2 separate regions of the Homo sapiens genome follow, and region 1 is linked to region 2. Evidence: promoter capture Hi-C in 16 types of primary human blood cells and fetal thymus (Javierre and others, 2016). All regions are on one chromosome and are shown on one strand. Each heading gives the region's core, a stretch centred on a gene start or on the middle of the fragment in contact. The rest is flanking DNA. Distances are from core to core; before and after follow the strand shown. Region 1 holds the start of MYL4 (myosin light chain 4). Region 2 holds the start of TBX21 (T-box transcription factor 21).

Region 1 (5,195 bases), core at 1,895-4,394, 520 kb after region 2:
GGGCCCTCCACGCTTCCTAATTGTTTCCAGTCATGCCTTTACGTGCACTCTGTCTCCTTGAAGCCACTGCTCCCTCAGGCAAGGATTCTTGTTATTGTTCACTGAAATGCTCAGTACATAGTAGGCACTGAAAAACATTTGTTGAATGAAGTAATACATTTTAGATTTCCCCCATATAATGCATAGTAATTTAATGCTGAGTACAGAAGAGGAGAGTGAATGACAATGGCCAAGCATAAGTCATCATTTTATTTTATTTTTTATTCTTATTTTTTGAGATGGAGTTTCGCACTTGTCACCCAGGCTGGAGTGCAATGGTGTGATCTTGGCTCACTGCGACCTTCGCCTCCCAAGTTCAAGCGATTCTTCTGCCTCAGTAGCTGAGATTACAGGCACCCGCCATAACGCCCAGCTAATTTTTGTATTTTTAGTAGAGACAGGGTTTCACCATGTTGGCTAGGCTGGCCTCGAACTCCTGACCTCAGGTGATCCACCTGCCTCGACCTCCCAAAGTGCTGAGATTACAGGCGTGAGCCACCACACCCAGCCCAAGTCATCATTTTGATTTAAGATCTTGTATGTTACCTCGTGGTCCTTATGCACCCCACCCCACCCCATCCCATCCCATCCCCTCTCCACTGGTGGTGGTTCCAATCCTGGAGCCTCTTCTTCAAGTGCCGTCATTCCTAGTCCTAATTCTGCTGCTGCTTGTGCTGTGCCCATCCTGTCTCATCTCCGAGAACTGACCTCCATTCATGAGGACCCAGATATGGCAGCCATGAGCTGGGGATAGGTTGGGGCAGTGGGGAGTTAACTGGGTTGGAAAGAAAACTAGTTGTGGCTAGGAATAGACTGCCAAAAGTAGGGGGTGGTCAGAAAGTTAAAGGAACCCCCTAGATGGGGTGAAGGATGCTCTGCATTCACTCTCTGAGGAAAAGGCACAGTTTGCCTTACTTTACAATGCTTTAAGAACCAGGAATAAACATGTAAGAGCAATTAATGTAAAAACTTAAAATCTCAATAGACGTGGTCCTAACTACACACACTGGGCTTAAGTTTGCTTCTGTTCTATCTTCGAATCTTTTTTATAATTTATTTATTTATTTGTAGAGACAAGGATCTTGCCATGTTGCCCAGGCTGGACTCAAATGCCTGGCCTCAAATTACCCTCCCGCCTCAGCCTCCCAAAGGGCTGGGATTATAAACATGAATCACCTCATCTGGCTTCTCTTCTGTCTTGGAGTAAAGAACCTTCTAATCAAAGGAACTGGGTAAGTATAACACAATAATAGGGAAAATGTCTCTCATAAAAGATACCTATTTTTTTTCTACTTCAAAGCAACTTCAACAACCCCCATGAAGATGCAGATATGGAAAAGAGGATTGCAACCAGGGGTGCAATTTCTCACGGGTGAGAAATTGAGAGAGGAGAGTGAATGAAAGAAGTGACAGGCCAAGGGAAGGACACCAGTTTGATGCCACTAGGCAGCTGTTGCCCAGACACCAGGGACAAGGCCTGGCAACCCACCCAAAGGCACAGTGCTTTATGGGAACAAATCAGAAATAAAGGCGAGGAGGGATCCTGAAGGGTGAAATAGTCAGCTTTTCCTGCCAGGCTCAGCTTGTAAATGGAGTGATGTATGACCTAGAAAACCTGCAGGTGTTTTCAGGGTCCTACAGTAGCCTCAGTTTCCCCAGAGTGAGCCATAACCAAGCTCAGAAAAGGGACAATTGCCTCCATCTCTTGGCTAAGCAGTTCCTGTCCCTTGCGGGGACTGGGTCTTTGGCATAATACTTGTAGGGTTATCCCGGCTGTGGGTATGAGAGGAATTCTCAGAGGGCAGGGAGGTCATACAATTAGAGCTCTGGGTTTTAATTTCCCTGCCTGCTTGTCACAGAACCTTGTCCTGTGCTCTTATTTTGACCTGATCCCTCACCACCCCCAGCCCTGTCCTAAGGCTGAGATCCCTGGGGGCTCAGCACTCCCAACCTGTTATTAATAGCTCTTCATACCAGTAGCCACTTGACCTTTTCCACTCTGGTGCCAAGGCTTAAAACTGCTCCTCTTCAGAGGTCTCTGGCCCCCTCCCTCTTCAGCCCACCCCTCTCCCACCAGTTCCATTCCTTCAGCAGCTGGGCCAGAGAGCTGGGAGGTCTAAAATGACTGAGTCAGCATGCAGGGCCCACACCAGCTCCAGGGAGAGGAATGTTTTGTGTGAGGAGAGCAGGGTGGGGCAAAGGAACCAGGCCCAGCTTCCTGACCCGGTTGGAGAGAGGGTCTCAGCCCAGGGTGGGCCAGTCCTCTGCATGCTACAGATAGGAACCCAGGCTAAGGCCACAGAAGGAAAGGCCCGTCTGGGTAAGGAAAGAGAGAGAGGAATCCGGGCTCCTCTTACCTTAACCACAACCTCCTTCCCACCCTGCCCTCACCTGCCGTAAGAGTGTTTGTGAGTGAAGCCTTTCCCAAACTGCCATGCACAGGGAGGATATTCCCTGACTGTTTATATCACTTACTCCAAGTTACACTGGCAGCTGCCATGATCTGTCTGTTCTCCATAAAGATATCCCACTACCTCCTAGGAAAAGGCTAGTCTGTTTTACTTTGCTATGGTGGTCCTCATAATGCCTTATAAAAGGGTGGATGGATGGTTGGTTGTACCTCCCCCCATTCCCAACTTAGCTGCACAAATCTAGGGTAGCAGGACAGGGCTCCCTCAAAGCAGCACCTCATTCTTGACGGAAAAGGTTTATGACTCAATCTCCCCCTCATCAGCCCCAACACCCACTCCACTGCCCCATGGGACTGCGATCTGGGGCATGGACACCCTAGTCCTCATCCCAGTCCAGCCCACATAAAGTAGATCGCTAAGCTCCAGAGCAAAAGGACTCTCAATGTCATCCCCACCTCTATCCCAATGGCTGAGCCTCACTTACCTTTACACTCTTGGGGTCAAAGGCAGGTTCCTTGGGAGCCTCAGGAGCTGGGGCAGGGGCTGGTGCAGGGGCTGGAGCTGGAGCTGGAGCTGGCTTGGCTGCCTCCTTCTTAGGCTCAGGCTTCTTGGGAGCCATGTTGTCTTGTTGGGATCTTTGGCAGAGGAGTGATCTAAGAAGAAACCGAGAGACGTGGCGTCTGGGAGATGAGATAGGAGCCTGGGCTGCCTCCCTTCCCTTTTATCCTGGGCAGGAGCCCCCACAGAGGGGCTGGGTGAAAGCAAGAGCAACTGCTGCTGACTATAAAAGGAAGAAACGCCAGCAGGGTACAGCTGACAACTGTGTATTGTCACCAGGTTTGGGGCCACCAGCCCCCTCCCCTTCATGCCACAGCTCTCTCTTCACCTCTAGGACAGGCTGATCCCTTCTTGCCAATTGGTGGAAACCCAGAAGGACCAGGGAAACAGACCTTCTCAAATATGCCGGAGCAGCCAGAGAGATGAGCTGACTTGAGCAGTTGATAAGCCTCACACAAAGCCCAGGGGAGGGTGAGGCTTTTTTTAGCCCCTCCCGAGCAGAGGCAGCCCACTGCACATTCCTTCTAAGCCAAGATCCTTTAAGCTGAGAGCCACTCTGGGCCCTCAGCTCTGCCTAGAGGCCCAACTCTCCAGGCATGGAGCTCTGAAGCAACAGCTGGTCCAGCCAACCCACACTGCCCCACACCCTCCCAACTCACAGGATGAAAGCCTCCATTTTCCAGAGCAGGCATCCCAGGAACTCCACAGACCTCAGATCCCTAGATCTACCCCCTTACACACAACCTCAGTCATTCATTCAACAAGTAGTGAGCACTGAACCCATGCCTAGGCACCTAGGAGAGAAGCAGAGAGATGTGGTAGAAAGTCGAGGAGACTGAGGGTCAGAAAACTTGGGGTTTAGTTTTCACTTTACCTCTAACTCATTCTGTGCTCTGTGTGTGTGTGTGTGTGTGTGTGTGTGTGTGTGTGTGTAGTGCTTACTACTATCAGTACCAGGAACTGTTAAGTGCTATTCATATAAAATCTCATTAAATCTTCACCATGATCCTATAAGGTAGATACTATTTTGTTTGTTTGTTTGTTTTAACAGAAACAAGGTATCGCTCTGTTGCTCAGGTTGCAGTGCAGTGGTGCAATCACAGCTCACTGCAGCCTCGTCTTTCCTGGCTCAAGCGATTCTCCCACCTCAGCCTTCCGAGTAGCTGGGACTACAGGTGCACACCAGCACACTTGGCTAATTTTGGGGGAGTTTTTTTGTTTTTTGTTTTTCAGTAGAGATGAGGTCTTGCTAAATTGCCCAGGTTGGTCTTGAACTCCTGAGCTCAAGGGATCCACTAGCCTCGGTCTTCCAAAGGGCTGGGATTATAGGCATAAGCCGCCACGCCAGGCCAGGTAGATACTATTATTATTTTCACTTTACACATGGGGAGATTGAGACTAAAACTGGATGAACAACTTGGCCAAGGTCACTCAAATAATTAGCTATAAGCTGGGATTAGATGTAGATATGTCTGAGTCTAAAGCCTATGCTTGAATAATGTATATGATAATCCAGTTGTCGGGGAGAGACATACAAGTTTCTGCATTTATTGGAGGAGTCAGGATGGATACACGCTGAACTGTTAACAGAGACACCTCTGGGGACCTAGGGGGTAAGGGTGGGAGGATAACAGCAATTTGCAGTTTTTTACTTTTTTCACTTCCTGTATTAATGGAAATTTTTATAACGAGCATTTACTGTTTATGTAAAAAAAACTTTGAAAGTCAACAAAATAATTCAGAAAAATAACAACAAAAAAGCTTATGTATCCACTACACAAAACTGCTTTGTGCTGAATCTTTAGACTCTACAGTTCAGAGGAAAAGAGGAATAAAGCTGAGAGAGGCAAAAAAATCACTTCGCCTTTCTAGGCCCAGTTTCCTCACCTGTAAAGCAAGATTGCTAGACTACAGAATCCTGGTTGCTGTTAGCTCCTAAGCCTGCAATTCTGGGTGCCCTGGAGCCCACATCTGCCCATTTCCCAGCTCTCTAACTACAGGTTCCATGCCCCAGATCATTGCCTTCAGAGCCAGAAGGACCCTTAGAGATCATCTGGCCCCATGCTGTTTTACAGGCAAGGAATCTAAGGTCCAGGGAAACGTTGAAGTTGCCTCAAGACATTCAGCTACTTATAGGCAGAGCTGGGCCAACTAATTCTGTTTCCTGGGGTGCAGTGCTCTCTGTAG
Region 2 (4,783 bases), core at 1-2,500:
AATCTCCCCCCGTACACACACACCACCACCACCGCTACCACCACCACTACCACCACTAAAGCTGACCTGAGCACACCAGCAGCAAAGGAGCCGGGGGAGGTGGGCGCAGGGGGCCCGGAGATAAGGGGCTCCCTTCCCCTCCAGTTTCCCACACAGGAGGCCCAGGCGTCCTGTCCGCCCAGAGCACAGGCTTTCACTGCCCGCTGCGACTCCTCTACAGTAGAGAGTGGGGCAGGGGCGCACACCAATTCTAGGTGAAGCCACAGTCACCCTTCCCCTAAATCAAGGTGACTTCTCACTGTCCCGCACTCACCCGTCTCCCTTGTGAGTCCTCTGGCTGTTGGTGCAACAGCCTGGGCACAGACGCCCCTCCGGAGCTTTCCCTGTCCTCCTAACAACCCCATTCCCCTGTCTCCCTACGCTGAAGCCAAAGCAGTGAGGGACACGGAGTCAGAAGCATTGTCGAGCCAGAAAAACAGACGAGACGTTCTTGTTCCGGCGCGGGCACAGAGGCCCCAAGGGCCGGCGCGCCGCACTCACCGTCCCTGCTTGGTGATGATCATCTCTGTCTGGTGCTGATTAAACTTGGACCACAACAGGTGGTTGTTGAGCGCGACCCTCAGTTTCCCCGACACCTCCAGTCCCGCGGGTAGCGCGTAGTCCTCACGCGGCCCCGGGTAGAGCCCGGCGCGCGGGTCCGGGGCGGCGTAGCCCTCGCCCGGCTGGTAGCCCTCGGCGTCCGCGGGCGGCGGGAAGGACTCGCCCGCGCCGGGGAAGCCGGCCGCCTGGGGTCGCGGCGGGTAGGCGTAGGCTCCAAGGAAGCGGCTCGGCGGGGCGGGCACCAAGGCGCCCCCCGGGTAGGGAGACCCCAGGCTGCCGCCCCCGCGACGCTCGTCCGCGTCCTGCGCGCCCGGCTCCGGGTAGAAGTAGCGGTGCTGCGGGTCGGCGCCAGGCGCCCGGCCCTCGTCGCTCCCCGGCATCGGCTCGGTGCCCGTCAGCATGTCTCCGCAACCCGGCTCCACGATGCCCATCCGGGGCGGGCTGGCACCTTCCCGTAGCCGTCGAGGACCCGCCCCTCCGCGCGCGAGAGGGTCGCGTGGGCTGGGATGGGCAGGGAGCAGGGGGCGGGGGACCCGAGGGCCGGGTGGGGGACCCCACCGGAGCCCGGGCTCTGACGCCTGGCTTCTACGCCCTCGTCCGGCAGGCGCGCGGCAGCTCTCGGGCTTCCTCTCCAGCGGGCCGCTGTCACTAGAGTCGCAGCGCTTTGCTGTGGCTTTATGAAGCTCTCCGGCTCCCCCCCACTCCGCCACCTCGGCCCTGCTCCGCCTCGCCCCACCCCGCCCTCTCGTGGCTAATACTAGGCAAATTCTACGCTCTTGGCGAGTACTGCAGGGCCCCCCATGGTGGAGAGAAGCGAGAGCCTGCGCGCACCCTGTAGTTCGAAGATCTTGCTTTCTGGGAGTGTCAGCTCCGCTGCCTGACACACCAGCCCGTGGCTCTCTTCTGGACCCTCGGGGAAATTCAGCCCAGCTTTGAAGTCTCAGCTCAAAGGCCCTCTCCTACAGGAAGCCTTCCGAGATGGCCCAAGTGGGACTCGCTGGGCATTCTCCTGGCACTCAGAGGCTCGGAGCACGGGCACACTAGAAGCAACTTTGACCATGAACATTCAATCGATCTTTATTGATACCTACTGTGTGCCCAGACTCTGTGCTAAGTGACCTTTCGGGTTGCCCTCTTTCTCCCCACCAGAGGTCCACATGTGCTGAGTTGGCTGCATCTTGTAGCTCTAGCCCTGGGGGCAGACCTGGAACCTGATGGACAACAGGAAATGTTCCTTAAAGCGCACTGCATCAGCAGCAGCCAGGGGTTTGCAGGGCCCTGAGCTGGGCCTGGCAGGGCCCACAAAAGCTCCCCTACCCTGCATGGCAGTCATGGGCACTGGAAGTAGCATTGGGCTGCCAGTGCTGAGAGTCCCAGGTCTGGCTCTGCCTGCCAGGTATATGTGACCCAGGCAAGTCATTTTCCTTGCCTGAAAGTCAACCTCACGTGCCTCATCCATAGACTGGGGGAAATAAACAGATCTACTTTTCAGGGGGGCTGCAAGCCTTACATGAGAGGGTGTACGTGTGCAGCACTTTCCAATCTATTATTATACCTGGATGGAAAAGCTGCTTTGAACAGATTCAGAGCCGGCTGACAGGAAGGAAACCCACCACATGCTCTGAAGGGCTGCCTCGGAGATAGGACGATGGAGGCTTTTCTTTCTCCATTTTCCTTTTATGTTAACTAATGTATTAGACTCCTTTTATGATGAAAACTATCCGTTTCCCCCCCCCCAATTGAAAATAGCATCATTGGGAGTTTTCCTGTGTATAAAGATGAAACATACTTATATAGGAAATTTAAGCAGCACAGAAAAGTAAAAACAAGACTGTATAAATCACCCCAAATTCCACCCCCTAAAGCCAAACAGGATTAACATTTCAGTGAACACCCTCTGAGACCTCACTCCTTATATACTCTCTGTCTCTGTCTTTTGCACACATGCACAAATATATAATTTATATAAACACTACACATGCTGCTTTATAATGTGTACTTTTTTTTCACTCCACAAGGTGTCATGGAATATTTTGCATATCAGTATATAGATAAAGATTTACATTTTTAAGAGTACTTTGAAAAATACTTTAATATTTTTGTCATGTTAAAGTTTAACTTCTCCTCTCTCTACCTTCACCCCAGTCCTCCCCAGTTCTCCCCTGGGAACTGGCCCCAGCTCTACATTTCTGTCCCAGCCTGACAGGGCTTCACCCTTAGGGGCCTATGGGGACTCTCTGCTCCCAAATAGAGCTGAACCAAGAGGCAAGTTGGCAGGCAAAGGCAAAGCTGGGGACTCCAGGAGGTGGGCATGACCCAGGGAGGCTTGGGGGAGAGAGAATCAGCACATCTTTTGAGGTTGGAGACCGGATACATGACAGTACCAGAAACACAGGACTGGCCTCCTCCCCAACACCTTACCCACCATTTCTCCGTACCTTAAGGAACAGGGAAGTTTCTGCCTGATGTTCAAAGTGGGGCAGCATTGCTTGGAAGAGAGGGTGACCTTGGGATCCTTCACTACTTTTGGGGAAACATGAGAGCTTTCAGTAAGACCCTCCTGAATGACTGATTCCCTAGGAGATGTGAGACTGTTGAATGCTGACACCCCTTTGGGGGACATTTTTGCTCAGTGCTTGGCTGTTGAAGATCAAATGGAGTCTTGCTCCTCCCTCTCTCTCCCCCTCCTCTTTTCCACATTAATCCTCAGGTCAAGTGATTCATCCCCTTGCCTCTGAACAGGATGACATGAGCTCCCACCCAGCTTTCTGGGGCAGGTGGAATTATGAATCTCAGAATCAGGTGGCCCTGGGGCCATGCCTCTGGAGGAAGAGGAAGGCTGGGGGTGGTCTCTCTAGAACCTGACAGGCTGTTATAGGGTCTTACAGCCTGGTTCCTCAATCCCCGATTTCTCACCCCCTCTCTCCAATTTCTTCCACCCAAAAAAGAAAGTGCTTGTGAAAAGCGGGGGCTGAGTGGCCCTGGTGTCACTGCTGCCAGTCCCGCCCCTCTGCCAGCTTGGGTGAGAATAAGGGCCCTGGCAGTGACACCTTCTCCTCCAGCTGCCACCTCACCCTCCTCCCGGGCCCTGGGGCTGGAAAGGTGGGAGAAGAGGAGTGAGGAGATGAGGCCCCCTGGGATCCCCTCACTTCCCCATGGCTGCTCCTCCCAGCCCTCTCTATCCCATCAATACAGGGAGCATTATGAGGCTGGTCCTGGTGAGACCGGAGTGAAGAAACACAAGATAAGTGTCCAGGAATGAGAGAGACATGGCCTCCAACCAGCATCACATTTTATGAGACACGGTGGATGGTAACTATGCAAAATGGAATAAGACACCAAACTCACACAGTGCATTTGTGGCAGAGCTGAAGCTAGAACCCAGGTCTCTTGACTCCCAGGCCAGTGCTCTTCCCACAAGAATGAGGAAGAATCATACTAACACTGGAAAAGGTTTAGAAAACAGGCCGGGCGTGGTGGCTCATGCCTGTAATCCCAACACTTTGGGATGCCAAGGCCAGCAAATCACTTGAGGCCAGAAGTTCTAGACTACCCTGGCCAACATGACAAAACCCCATCTCTACTAAAAACACAAAAATTAGCTGGGCATGATGGGCGCCTGTAATCCCAGCTACTCAGGAGGCTGAGGCAGGAGAATCACTTGAACCCAGGAGGCAGAGGTTGCAGTGAGCCGAGATCGTGCCGCTGCACTCCAGCCCGGGAGACAGAGCAAGACTCCATCTCAAAACAAAAACAAAAACAAAAATAAAAATTAGCAGGTGTGGTGGCTGGCCCCTGTAATCCCAGCTACTCAGGAGGCTGAGGCAAGAGAATCACTTGACCCCAGGAGGAGGAGGTTGCAGTGAGCTGAGACTGTGCCACTGCACTCCAGCCTGAGTGACAGAGGGAGACTCGGTCTCAAAGAAACAAAAAGAAAAAGAAAAGAAAAGGTTTAGAAAACAGAAAAGAAAATCATGCCTAATCCCACAGCCTAGACACTGGTTCTCTCCACGCTGTTGTCCTCTGCAAACGTTCAGGGCTTCCTTTCAAACTGTTTCCCATGAAGACTCAAAATGAGAGAGGCTCCCCGAAGGTCACACAGCACTTGCTTCACCTGTGGGCTGCAGACTATGCCAGGAAGCCACAACGATGTGGATTTCTGGGACTTGCTTCTAGAGATTCT

What was found. Contacts are between HindIII fragments. The CHiCAGO score rates a contact against its expected background, and 5 or more counts as called.
Region 1: a contact is called between the fragment with the promoter of MYL4 here and the fragment with the promoter of TBX21 in region 2, in 2 of 17 cell types (neutrophils and naive CD8 T cells). The highest score is 6.2, in neutrophils.

Annotation. Positions count from the first base shown.
Region 1 is chr17:47,207,297-47,212,491 of GRCh38, reverse strand. It overlaps MYL4 (myosin light chain 4), which reads right to left and starts at 3,144. Exons shown (of 7, transcript NM_002476.2): 1 at 2,935-3,144. The coding sequence starts at 3,069. The HindIII fragment of the contact is 17,980 bases long and covers 1-4,771 here.
Region 2 is chr17:47,729,703-47,734,485 of GRCh38, reverse strand. It overlaps TBX21 (T-box transcription factor 21), which reads right to left and starts at 1,250. Exons shown (of 6, transcript NM_013351.2): 1 at 541-1,250. The coding sequence starts at 1,031. RefSeq lists an enhancer at 462-511, silencers at 692-861, 892-1,431 and a promoter at 1,243-3,242. The HindIII fragment of the contact is 7,327 bases long and covers 1-4,783 here.